Linked DNA regions of Homo sapiens: region 1 is linked to region 2. The links are contacts of gene promoters, found by promoter capture Hi-C in blood cells and fetal thymus (Javierre and others, 2016). All regions are on one chromosome and are shown on one strand. The core of a region is centred on a gene start or on the middle of the fragment in contact, and the rest is flanking DNA. Distances in the headings are between cores, read along the strand shown.

Region 1 (6,515 bases), core at 3,760-6,259, 330 kb after region 2:
CCTTCCCTAGAGCACTTAAACATAAGTTTCCTTTTTGCCCCAAACCCCTAAAATCTATGCAACTTACAATTTGGCACATCTAAGGGCATGGACCTGCAGGATTCTGCCTGTGACTTTTAGCAAACCAAGCTTTTTCACCTAGCAAAGCCTCTGCATGGGCTGTCCACCCTGGGAATGGGCAGCAGTGTGCTGAGCTTAATGAGTGAAATGAAACTGAGACAAATAACTCACATCACTGGGATGGGTCACTCGCTTAACCACCAGGCACTTGAGTGTAATGAATGTTCCTGATGAAGGAGGTCTCAATAGGCTCTAGATGCACCTGGCTCACAGCTGGGGCTTGTCTCCCGCTGTCACCCACAGGCGAGCCCAGTCAATATTCAACGACTGACAAACAATTCACTGATCCCACATGTGGGTGCTGGCTTAGTTGGCTCATGACCAATAACATTTAGACACTTCTGTTCTACAGAAAGGAGGCACCAAATATATTTACTGGCAACAGTCCTCTAGCACCTCTCCTACTAGTCTCTTCACTTTGCTGTGGCTCAGTTTCCCCATCTTTAAAATGAAGAAGGCACTGATCCAGCCCAGATGGTCTGAGATGTGGAGCAGGCATTCCCAGAATTCTCGACAGCCAGATCTAGAAGAGATCTTCCTGGCCCAGTAATTTTCACAGGCCCCTTGTGGGGAGGGAGGTGGAGGAAGCCAGGTGAGTGGGACGCTGACACTGCACCCCCTTCTCCTCCATCAACCACAGCAGTTCTAATTTGATGTCTTCACAGGACTTTAGCATGGGACTTCCTCTGAAGTCTGGTAGCTTAAAAAAAGCCCTGAGAAATCTAATACTCTAATTTTACAGATGAAGAATGAGACACACAGGGGGAAGTGAACAGTCACTGGCCACACTAATGGAAGAGTGGGGACCAGAACTTAAGGCTTCAGACTTGTAGTCCTTACCACCCTCGTGTCTGCTTTGGGGAAAGCATGGAGTGCCTGCTGGTATTTAGGAGGAAGAACGGCTCTCTGCTTCCCACACATTTGCGTGAGGCCCAGAGGACACTCCTAGAATAAGCTAGGCCACACAATGCAAGGTACCTGTGGCTGTGGTTAAATTTCTGCACCAGCCTCCCGCCGTCTGCAAGCCGAATTTGGATGTTTGTGGTAGGCTCTGATTCGTCGATTAAGATGGAAGAGCTGGCTTTGGCTTCATTTTCTGCCTGTTGGGCTGGAGAGCTGGTACTCAACACCTGGGGGGCAGTGCTGAGGAGAGAGGATGGCATCAGAACACAAGCAGAAACAAGGCCCCTAGCAAGAAGGGAATCCCTTCTTGGACTGTTACTGAGCATTTGCAATGCGCCTGGCATTGTTTGGTGCTGCTGATCTATTGACCCAGACAGGGAAAATCGTGCCCTTATGGAACTTACAGGTCCAGCAGAATTCACTTCAAACCCTGAGTCATATATTTCATACGTTATTGCTAGCTCCCTCGCTCCTGAGTAATGTGGGCAAGTTACTCGGCCTTTTTCCTCCTTGGTGTCTTCAACTGAACAAGGGCTTGAAGGGAGGAAAGCAGGACAGCCTAGGGTGGGAGAGACAGGGTCATAAGGCTGGAAGACATAATAGAACAGGGTCAGTTTTAGCCTCAATGGAGTGGTGGAGGGGAGTGTTCCAAGTCTGCAGCTGAGGCAGCCTTGGCACAGCCTGGCAGGTGAGTGGCAGGATGCAGGCAAAGCAATCCAGATTCTTCTTCTGTGATGGAATTTTCAGGCCTGCATTACCTAGTGCACCTCACTCCCATGTGTATCTGTACTCATACATCCACTATTGAGGGCAGGGGAGAGAGTTCTAAAGGGCACTGAAAAGCCAATTAAGTGCTGGGTTCTGCTGGGATTCATCATACAATGAACAGGACACGGTGTCAGACACAGTGTTAGATTTCATATCTCAGAATCACATGGACCAGGGTTTGAATTACTCAAGCACCCTTAGTTTCAACAAAGGTAGTAATTAGATTTTTAAAGGGTTAAGGCATAGGCCTTGCTCAGTTTTTGTTAGGATTAAAGGGGAAAATTGCATAATGCACTCAGGATGGCTGACAAACACAAAATGCACATAGGACTCCCAATTCTCCACAACTGTATGGAGCCGCCTTCTCTCCTCCAAACCACCTGTCCACTTCACTCCCAGTCTTTCTCTTAGCAGATGACCTGACTTAGACCTTTGCAAAGAAGAAAGGCCACTAGATGAGCATTTGCTTCCCCTCAAAGCCTCTAATTAGATCAGTTCTTGTAACTTACTCTTCCCCCTTCACAGCCCCAAAAATGGTACTGAGAGCAAATCCAACTGAAAGTGCTTTCCAAAGTGTGTTCCATAGGAAGGAAGGTGTAGGAAAGGCCACATATTACACTAGCAGCTTCAGAGGCCATTGGCACATTAAAGGTTTTGAGAGATTGCACAGTTAAATATTGCCCTGAAGCATATAATTAAAGAATGACTGAAAAGCAAACTTACTCTTTTCTGTGAATGTGAAAAACATGGACTTACAGAATTACAAAGTAGAGCTCAGAGGAGAATGTCACCCACATTACTAGCACTAGAGAAGCTGCTTCTCTGCATCAGCCTCAAAGCATGTGGGACTCAAAAAGTGTGGGCTGGGACACACAGTTTAAATGACACTACGATAGGCCACAAGAGTTGATTGGAAATAGTGAATAGGTAAATCTCATATACCTGTAAATGCCTAAGCTCTGCACCAAGCTTGTCCAACCACCCATGGCTCATGGGCCGTATGCGACCCAGGACAGTTTTGAATGCAGCCCAACACAAATTTGTAAACTTTCTTAAAATGTTATGAGTTTTTTTTTTTTTTTGCTTTTTGTTGTTGTTAGCTCATCAGCTATCATTAGTATCAGTGTATTTTATGTGTGGCCCAAAGCAATTCTTCCAAAGTGGCCCAGGGAAGCCAAAAGACTGGACATTCCTGATCTACACTATCTCGTTTTGTTCATTAGTTTCACAGACATTAGGTTAACTCTCCAATTAGACTTTAGGCAGCCTGTCCCTCAACTATTTATAATAATTCAAAGTATACGTACTCATTGAAACCACCGCCTGCCAGAAAGGGAACTATAACGTTTTCAGGCAGGCCTAAGATGAGAAAGAAGCTGTTAAGCCAAAATAGCTGATATCAGTTAAGGGGGTGGGGAGCAGAAAAAACAGGAGTGACATTTACACCGACTCTGTGCAGGTATTGTCTAAAGGGGCTTTCACAGCCACGACCTCGCTGAATCACCACAACCATCCTCTGAGAGGGGTGTATCTCCATTTTATAGATGAGAAAACACACACACACGCTATGGATCATTTTTAAAAACTAATGCAATGAACAAGCCTCCTTTCAGTATATATTCTGTGTATTCCCACCAGCCAGGATTTTGTCAAGCTTTACAATTACGATGGTTTTAGAAAAATAATATTTATATTGGAAATGCTTTCTCAAACTTCTCCTTGAGTTTCACTCCTCACTTATGAGCTGATGACCCTCAGCAAGTTACTGAGCATCTTGGCACCTCAATTTCCTTTTCTATAAAGTGGAGATACTCTCCTTACCACAGCTCCACGCCTTTTGGGGAAGCAGTCCCTACTGTCCCTATTATCAAGGAGAGTTGGTGTGATGCCAGAGAAATGGCACAAGCTTTGGAGCTGAGCCACCACCATTTGGCCTCTGCTCTGCCTCTAAACAGACAGTGTGGCCTTAAGCAAGTCACAACTTCCCAGGGCTTCAGTGTCTTTGTGTGTAAAATGAGGAGCTGTTCTGTTGTGAGGATGAGACGAGATAATGTGCACGCAAGGCCTGGTATTTAGGAAATCCTCCACACAAGGAAGCAGCTGCTGTTTGGGTTTGCTTCCCAGCACGTCCCATTGCAGACTGCTGGTGGGTCATCACTGGAAGAGATGAGGAAAGCCTGATGCCTGGACTTGGCTGTGTAGCTTCTGACTGGCTGTTTCTCTTACACACTCCCTAAAAATTAGGTGAGGCAGGGTGGCCTGATAAACATGGTGACTATTTATGAGGCACCCATTCCTAAGCCAGGCCCTGTGCTGAGTACTTCACATGTATTAACTTACTTAACCCACAGGCTTAACCCCCAGCCTATGAGGTAGGGATTCATTACAGATGAAGAAACTGAGGCACAGCAGGGTGAAGCAACTTGCCCAAAATCCCAGTGTTGGTTCACGGTAGAGGCAGTATACAATCCGAGCTATTTGGCTCTCCATCCTGTGCTCTTCACACTGTCCCACTCTCCTGTTGGGCCTTACACTCAGACAGGTATAGGCCTGGATTTCAAGACCCAGTTTCCTCATCAATAAAACAGAGTTAAAACTTCCCAGATACTTGAGAAAATAGCTAAAAACATGCACTGTACCCAACACATACTAAAAGTACAAACAAATGTCTATGTGGCTATGCAAGAATATCCAGGATGCTATGCAGGTTGGCAGGTAAAGGCAGAGACTGGAGGGACCCAGCTCTGCACTGGCCAGCAATATGGATCTCACCAAGTCTCAGGATCCTTCTTTGTAGAATGGGGATTAAAACAGGATTAAAGAAGATAAAATAAATGAAATACTTAGCATAGCGCTTAGCTAACAACATAAAACACTCGACTAACTAATTATATCATTCTTCAAGGTCCTGCCCCACTTATATTTGCCTCAATTCTGGACCAAAATCGACTAGAAATGCTATCAGCTGCCATGGGCTGTAAGTGGAAGGTCACCTGACAGGCATTCCCAGTCTATACTGCTCTCAAGGAGGATGGGGAGTGGAAGAGGAGGGGAAACCTGAAGACCAGGCCTCCTGATTTTTCAAATAATAAGAGCACATCATTCAAAGAATATTAGTTCCATAGTGCTCTAATCATCCCGCAGGGCAGCCACACGCATCTGTTCAAAGGAGCTGGCCTGCCAGCTCTTCCTGAGAACTGCCAACAGCTGGGCTACTGCTCCCAGTGAGCGGCTGGCCATCTGCAGCTGTGAGGGTGCTTGATTCACAGGCAGGAAAGGTTAGAGCAGACGTCTATAAATAGTGTTTTTTGGTGTCTCCCTGCAAACATCGTAAGTTATGGGGAAAATGAGTCTCAATTCAAGAGCCCGAATCACCCAACTCCTCCTATCTTTACAGGGGGAATAAACTGGCACTAGGTACTTTCTTGCCACAGTTACAAATCCTGAGACCAGCCATCTTCTCCACAAAAATAACCACTACAGAAGGCACGGGAGCAGCTAAAGCTCACTTCCAGCAGCAGTGACCCCTCCTCCCAAGTGCACTCTTGCTGTTTGCAATTCGAACCTTCAGATCAGCTCCCAACTCAAACAAACTAACGTAAAACCTAAAACAACAACAAAATTCTCCGGTTTCTCTTCAGATTGTATACATCTTTTGCCTTTTACTAAAACAACAAAAAAAATTTAATACAACTGAATTTTCTCAAAATATTTTAACTGAGACAACTTATTCATTCACTTGAAGTATTTTCCCAGATAATTAAGATTTTGAAAAAGCCCAGTACTGACTGATTTTTGAAGCAAATCTGAGAAAATTTTCAGGAAAAATTTCAAGAAAAGTTCAAGACTTTTGGCTTCTGATCATTTTGGTTCACAAGACAATGAAAAACATAGTAAAATTTATGAGAAAAACTAAAGCAGCTGTCCTGATTTAGACTGAAAAGCTAAAGTCCCATCTCACTTAACTTTATAAAACTGTGGCTGTTTTTTTTTTAAGCTAAGTTTTCATAAAAAGCCAGAACTGAAATAAAATGCAAGTGGAACTGGCAGTGAACACTTTGTTGATAAACATCATGGTGATATCAAGTTCTATCTTGTGCTCATTCTCCACATTAATATTTATTCCTATCATGCTAAAATAGACTTTAAAGATATTTTAATTTTCTGAGATGCAGAGTTTCACACACATAATATGGTTAGACTTTCCAATAGAAACATTTCCTGTTAGTATTATAAAATCATACCCAAAGTGCATGGTGTTCTGAAGTTCTGAGCCCTCCCTTGTAACTGGTGGTGGGCATAAAAAATATAGCCTTTTTGAAGGGCAATTTGACATCTTAAAAGTATGAAGCCCTTTTGAAACAATAATCATATGTCTAGCCCAAGTGTACAAAGATTTAATCACAGAGATATTCACTGCAATGTTGTAATTCTGGTAGCTGCCTAAATGTTTAACAGCAAGGACTGGTTAAATTATGGCACATTTATGGGCTAGAAAATTATGTAAGCATTATAATTAAAAGTGTAGAAATAAGCTTACTGATAAAGGATGATAGCCATACTTCACTGATAAAGTAAAAAGCAGGTGATACAACAGCATGTTTACAAATACATGCAAATGAGTAAGAGAAGAAAGATACACTTGCCAGATATTTCTGGGTGTTAGCTTCAGGACAGCTTTTATTCTTTACCTGCACTTTCTATTAAGATGAACATGTATTATT
Region 2 (6,441 bases), core at 2,400-4,899:
CAGTGTTGAACCAAGGGGTGGGGGTGACGGAGCTGTCTGCCCTGTAAGATGCCAGCTACAACCAACTGTATGCAAACCAGTGTTGAACCAAGGGGTGGGGGTGATGGAGCTGTCTGCCCTGTAAGATGCCAGCTACAACCAACTGTATGCAAACCAGTGTTGAACCAAGGGGTGGGGGTGACGGAGCTGTCTGCCCTGTAAGATGCCAGCTACAACCAACTGTATGCAAAGCAGTGTTGAACCACGGGGTGGGGGTGACGGAGCTGTCTGCCCTGTAAGATGCCAGCTACAACCAACTGTATGCAAACCAGTGTTGAACCAAGGGGTGGGGGTGACGGAGCTGTCTGCCCTGTAAGATGCCAGCTACAACCAACTGTATGCAAACCAGTGTTGAACCAAGGGGTGGGGGTGACGGAGCTGTCTGCCCTGGTGCAGACAAGGAGTAGGTACATTTGCTGTAGAAAACGTAAAGGCAGTAACAAAACAGACCAAAGGCCAGTCCACTTTTTACTGTCATCATGTACCAGCAATTTGAATCAACTTCATTGATAAAATTCTCCACCTGACTAAGGCTGATAGCTCTCACTGTCCCATGCCCACCCCTTGAAAGCCCACTGATGCCAAGCACACTGAGGAAAGTGCAATTAATCATGGGCAAAGAGACGAGGGAAACCTCACTCAGGAGGCAACATTGACCTTGTAATCCCACAGAGCTAGCTGCATTCCACCATGCCTTTGCACATACTGTTTCCTTTTACTGGAACACCTTTTGATCCTTAATCCACTTTTTTTTTTTTTTTGAGACAGTCTCTCTTTATCACCCAGGCTAGAGTGCAGTGGCTTGATCTCGGCTCACTGCAACCTCTACCTCCCGGGTTCAAGCGATTCTCCTGCCTCAGCCTCCCGAATAGCTGGGATTACAGGTGCCTGCCACCACGCCCGGCTAATTTTTGTATTTTTAGTAGAGACAGGGTTTCACCATGTTGGCCAGGCTGGTCTTGAACTCCTGACCTCGTGATCCACCTGCCTCAGCCTCCCAAAGTGCTGGGATTACAGGTGTGAGCCACCATGCCTGGCCAGTACTTTTTTTTTTTTTTAAACACTAGACAGTGAGCTCTATAGGGACAGGAACCTGTTCATCTGTGTCTGGCCCACAGTAGGCACTTAGGAATGGGCTGCCACTAAGTAGGCACCTTAAGTGGACACCCTGCACTATGGTTCATGGCAGCCCAGCCTATGAAAGTTTATTGATGGAATGAATCTGTAGAAATTTTCCATAATTGGATAAGGGCATTACAAACAGAAGGGACAGAGCAAGCAAAAGCAGGGAAGACTGAAAGTGCAGAACTTCTCAGTAGAAAGGGCAAATAGCTTTATGCCACAGGCAGTACATCTCAGAGAGGAGTTCCACAGCCACTAGCTTTAGTGTCATCCAGAATGTAGTCAACATACATGCACTCTTCCTCAGACCTTCTCATCCAGAATCTCTGCAGAAGGGGTTCAAGAATCTGGTTGTCTCAAGGAAACTTTAGGAACACAAAATTTGGAGAGGCACAGGGCCAGCTGACAAAGGGAGTGATGGACTATAAAGAGGTAAGAGTGCCCTGACTGGGTTGGGGCTAGGCCAAGAATTCATTCCTTCATTCAGTATTCATTCTGTCTTTCAATAAGTATAGATTGATCCCAGAAGGCACTCAGGTACATATGTGCACAAGGTAGACATGCTCCCTGTTCCTTTGTCACAGTCTAGTGGAAAGACAGTCATTAAATAAGCAAAGAAATAAACACCTAACATAGTTTCAGGTTATGATTAATGCTTTGCAGGAAAAAAAAAAAGCCAGAGAGGGATTAAAGACGGGAGAAGGTTATTTTGGATGGAATGGTCTGGGAAGCCCTCTGTTGAGGATGGTAGGAGTGAGGGATGAAGCCACTTGAAATGAAGAAGCAAGACATGCAGATATCTGGGAAAAGAGCATTCCAGGAAGAGGAACGCAAAGGCCCAAACAGAACACATGAAACAGGGAAACTGGCTGGGAAGCTACTGCAATAGTCTAAGTGTGAGATGCTGGAGGATCAGACCAGAGTGGAAGCAGTGAAGGTGATGGGAAGTGGTCAGATTCATAATATATTTTGAGAGTGGAGTCAACTAGCTTTGCTGTTGGACCAGATGTAGATGTGAGAGAAGAGGGGGAGCCAAGGTTATTGCACGTATAAAGGGGATGAGAGGACAGTTGAAGGAGACTGAATCAGAGAGGTACAGGGCTGGCAGGGCTGGGGCAGGAGATGGCAGACCACATGCAGATTCCTGCAGACCATGGGGAGGACTTTACTTTTCCATTGAGTGTGACGATTTTGAGCCAACGGATGTGATCTGACTTTTCTTTTTTTTTTTTTTTCTTTTTTGAGACAGAAGATCGCTCTGTTGCCCAGGCTGAAGTGCAATGGTGCGATCTTGGCTCACTGCAACCTCCACCTCCACCTCCCGGGTTCGATTGATTCTCATGCCTCAGCCTCCCGAGTACCTGGGACTAAAGGCGTGCGCCACCACACCCAGCTAATTTTTGTATTTTTAGTAGAGACAGGGTTTCACCATGTTGGCCAGGCTGGTCTCAAACTCCTGACCTCAAGTGATCCGCCTGCCTCGGCCTCACAAAGTGCTGGGATTACAGGCATGAGCCGCCACACCTGGCCGATCTGACTTGTTTTCTAACAGAATCTCTCTGGTTGCGGAGTGCAGTACAGACTAGAGAGAGACAGGAATGGAATGGGGCAGTTCTGAGGCTGATGCCAGGCATCCAAGTGAAAGATGACAGGAGCTTGAACCAGGTTAGTGACTGGGATGGGGAAACTAAATTTATTTGGGTAAAAACAATAAGTGGATTTCATGAAACTTGTTGAAGTAACGGGTGGTAAAAATCATAAAGGGGGTAGGCAAATAAATGATTGAAATTTGATAGTGGGTCAGGAGCTTCAGCTCTGCGGGCAGCAGTTGTGTCTCCTTGGAGAAGTGGTTTCAACTCTGAGCCGTTTTGTCATCTGCAAAATGGGGATAATAACGGTCCATACTTCATAGAGTTGTTGAGAGGGTGATGTAAAGGTTTTAGCGCACGATGTAGCACACAATAAACACTTAATAAATGTTATCTTAGAAGCCAGACTGCCAGGTTCCCATAACCATTTCAGCCGTTCACCGGCTGGCTGTTGTCATCTTGGTCAAATTATCCCTCTGCGCCTCAGTTTCCTCATCTGTGCAATGAGGCACATTAATCGTTAATATCAACTGCATAGAGTTGGGTTGTGAAGATTAAATAAATGAATACAAGTAAAGCGTTTAGAATAATGTGGACGGTAGCAAGCACGGCGAACGTGTTAACGATTATTAAGAATGTATTTTAGCCACATTTCCCAGCCCCTTCCCCGGCCTAGCATACCCCATTTTGTGGATGGGAAGTCTGCCTCTCAGCAAGGTGGCCTCTTGGAGGACGCTGTGCCCGCGTCAGGCGATCCTGTCGACTGCCGCCAAGACCCGGCTTCCGGCTTTGAGGGGCCACGCCCCGCTCGCACTCCCTGGCGGAACCTTTCAGTGCTGCGCTCGCGTTGCCAACCCGGCGCGCCTCACGCAGTTGCGCCCGCTGTTGGGACTACTTCCGGCTTCCCCGCCCCGCCCCGTCCCCGGGCGTCTCCATTTTGGTCTCAGGTGTGGACTCGGCAAGAACCAGCGCAAGAGGGAAGCAGAGTTATAGCTACCCCGGCCGCGGAGCCGGCTCACTGCACTACCCCCGCCCCCTTCTTTCCTCCAGACGCCGAAGTCGCGGGCGCTCATGGCGGGCCTGGAGGTACTGTTCGCATCGGCAGCGCCGGCCATCACCTGCAGGCAGGACGCGCTCGTCTGCTTCTTGCATTGGGAAGTGGTGACACACGGTTACTTCGGCTTGGGTGTCGGTGACCAGGTACGCCACGGAGCCGGCCAGGGTGGAGGAGGGAACTGTCTTCTGCCCAAACTCAGAGTACCGGAGGCCTGGTCCAGAGCGCCCGATTTCCCCGCTTCTCCCAGTGCAGGGTCTGGGGCAGATGGCAGCGTTGGTAAAACCTGCGGGTCGGAGGTTGCTCACCTGCCCCATCCCAGCCCAGAGTCCCTCACGGCACAGCTGGCACAACATGATTTGTAAACTCAAGGGCGGACACTCGCTTCAACACAGCCTGGCAGCCTCTCAGGCCAGGACTGTGTGGATCTAGCATTCCATAGAATGGCAAAGAATCTAGACAGGAGTTTAGCTCCCCAGAGCACTTCTCACCCACCTGATCCCGTCTGAACTCCTTACCACCCAGCCTCGGGGTGAGGGGACTGACTCAGTTCCGCCCTCATACCACAGTAGAGCCTCCACCAAACATCTGGATCCAAGCACAGGTACAGGAGTGAGCTTTGACCTACTCAGCCCCAGGCCAGGGCCCTTTTTTCACCCGTTAGCATGGGCCCAGAGAGTTCACACGCCTTTCACCCTTTACTGAAGGGCCCAGCATAGTCCACTCGCTACTGCCATCCCCAACTCAAGCTCTAGGAAGCAATCACCCCCAGAGTCGTACACACATACACCCTGGGTGTGAGGGTCATATAAGATTTTCTCCTCATAGTTGTCCCCATAGGGCCAGCCCCTCTTCTCCCATCCCCAGGCTCCACCTCTTACAGCTAGGGACGTCGTTGTCATCCCCACAGAGTTCTAGGACTGCTGGACCCAACCCACCTCACTAATTCTTTGCTCTGGCATTCTTCTTTCTTTCCTGTCTCTTCCCTGTGACCCTCATCCCCAACATCCACATCATCCTAGACATCTGCTTCCTGGGAGAAGTGGGCCTGCCTCCATGCCTGCCCCTCACTGTCACTGTTCTCTCACTCTCAGAACCAAGACTAGCCATGGGAAACAGACCACCCCACCTATTGCATCTTGCCATGAGATTTCACCCTTCCTCTCCTTTTTGACTGCTTCAGTTCTCAACTCCTCTAATCATTTTTTTTAGCTTCTCAAATAGAGTCTTAATTCTCCCCTCCTGACATAGCTTTAGGGACCTCTCTTCAAACTTGCTTTGTACATTCTGAGCACTTAGACAAGTATCCCCTTTCCCCCACCCCTCACTGCTGTCCCTATTCCTCTCTGTCTCTTAGAACTAAAGACCAAGACCACCATACCCCTCTCACACTTTACCCCCTCCAGCAGGAATCAGAACACAAGAACCGTCAGGGATTTCTGGCTCTTTTTTTCCCCAGACCTCAATTATCTCACTGGGACCCCAGGTACACACTCAGGATCCCCATTCCCACCTCCAAACTCACACATACTTCATCTCTCAAATGGGCTCTAAGACTAGATATGAGGATGGAAAAGAACAGCTAGCCTTTCACACACACATACCTGGAAGCAGGAATCATTTCACCTTCCCAAACACATCTGTCCCTGACCTTTCTCTTTGTGCTGCTCTTCATTCCACATACCTTCCAAATGTCTTCCAGCATTTCAGACCTTGGGACCAGGTAGAGACAGCACCCCCATTTCAGCGTCAGGCCCCTCTTTCAATGCATAGTTCCCCTAACAGAAATCTTGTCTCCCCACTTGTCTTACTCCAGCTTTTTAATCTTAAGCAGCTCTTCACTTGCCCCAGTCATTTTATTTCAACTTTTCCTAGATTCTTCAAAGAAACTGGTATGTGGGATGGTGCAGGGGACAGTGGGGCTGAGAAGAGGAGTAAGATTTGATTTTGACCTGGGATCTCCTCCATTGGCCCTCAGCTCCCCCTGCCCTTTGTCTTGTCCTTCAGATGGAACAGCTCTGCTTTGCACTCTGTCCCTCCTCATGTACCTCACTCCCCTTACCTACTCCTAGCTAGCTACTTAGACTCTGCCACACTGTCAGAACCCCATCCACCTCTGCTGAGGAACTTGTTCTAGAGGGCGTGTCTGATACCCTTCTCTCCTTGCCATTCCACAAATAAATATCAATCACTGTGGATCTGCTCCTACATTTCTTACCCTCACTCATGCTGTCTGAATCACTTTGACAGTTTAGGGACATGAGTTCACATAAGTCGATACCTTCTAGCTGGCATTACCACCTTGCCATACACTCAAGGCTCCAAAATTTTCAGATGAAATGTACAGAAAGAATACAATCTCATTTTAATAGTTTTTTTTTTTTTTAAAAAGGTCCTTGACCAATTCCCCAAGGTCCATCTAATTTTTCTCTGTTCATGGTGCTATTCGTTGAGCTTCTGCAGGCCAGAAAAAGATGCTGGTTTCAGACATCTTTGGGGAGGCCCAGGAGCCTGGGGAATTAGGTTTTTGTAAGGCATTGCCACCTTTCCTCTATCTACCCCAGCACTAAATCTTGCATGCCCCCGAAGGAATGAGTGTTTGGATTGCAAACTAGAGTGTGGTGTATTTTTGCTTCT

The links. The method cuts DNA at HindIII sites, captures the fragments that hold promoters and counts their contacts. A CHiCAGO score of 5 or more calls a contact.
Region 1: a fragment that was not itself captured here is called in contact with the fragment with the promoter of PSMF1 in region 2 in 1 of 17 cell types (non-activated CD4 T cells); the score reaches 5.1 in non-activated CD4 T cells.

Annotation. Positions count from the first base shown.
Region 1 is chr20:1,444,568-1,451,082 of GRCh38, forward strand. It overlaps NSFL1C (NSFL1 cofactor), which reads right to left. Exons shown (of 9, transcript NM_016143.5): 8 at 1,099-1,263. Among named protein-coding and RNA genes, the nearest start is that of NSFL1C, 19 kb to the right of the region's middle. The HindIII fragment of the contact is 2,629 bases long and covers 3,696-6,324 here.
Region 2 is chr20:1,114,953-1,121,393 of GRCh38, forward strand. PSMF1 (proteasome inhibitor subunit 1) reads left to right here and starts at 3,650. Exons shown (of 7, transcript NM_006814.5): 1 at 3,650-3,950. The coding sequence starts at 3,822. It overlaps LOC105372493 (a long non-coding RNA gene), which reads right to left and starts at 3,496. Exons shown (of 2, transcript NR_136535.1): 1 at 3,432-3,496; 2 at 2,900-3,036. RefSeq lists enhancers at 3,401-4,043, 3,443-3,492, 3,503-3,552, 3,563-3,752, 3,793-3,922. The HindIII fragment of the contact is 12,206 bases long and covers 1-6,441 here.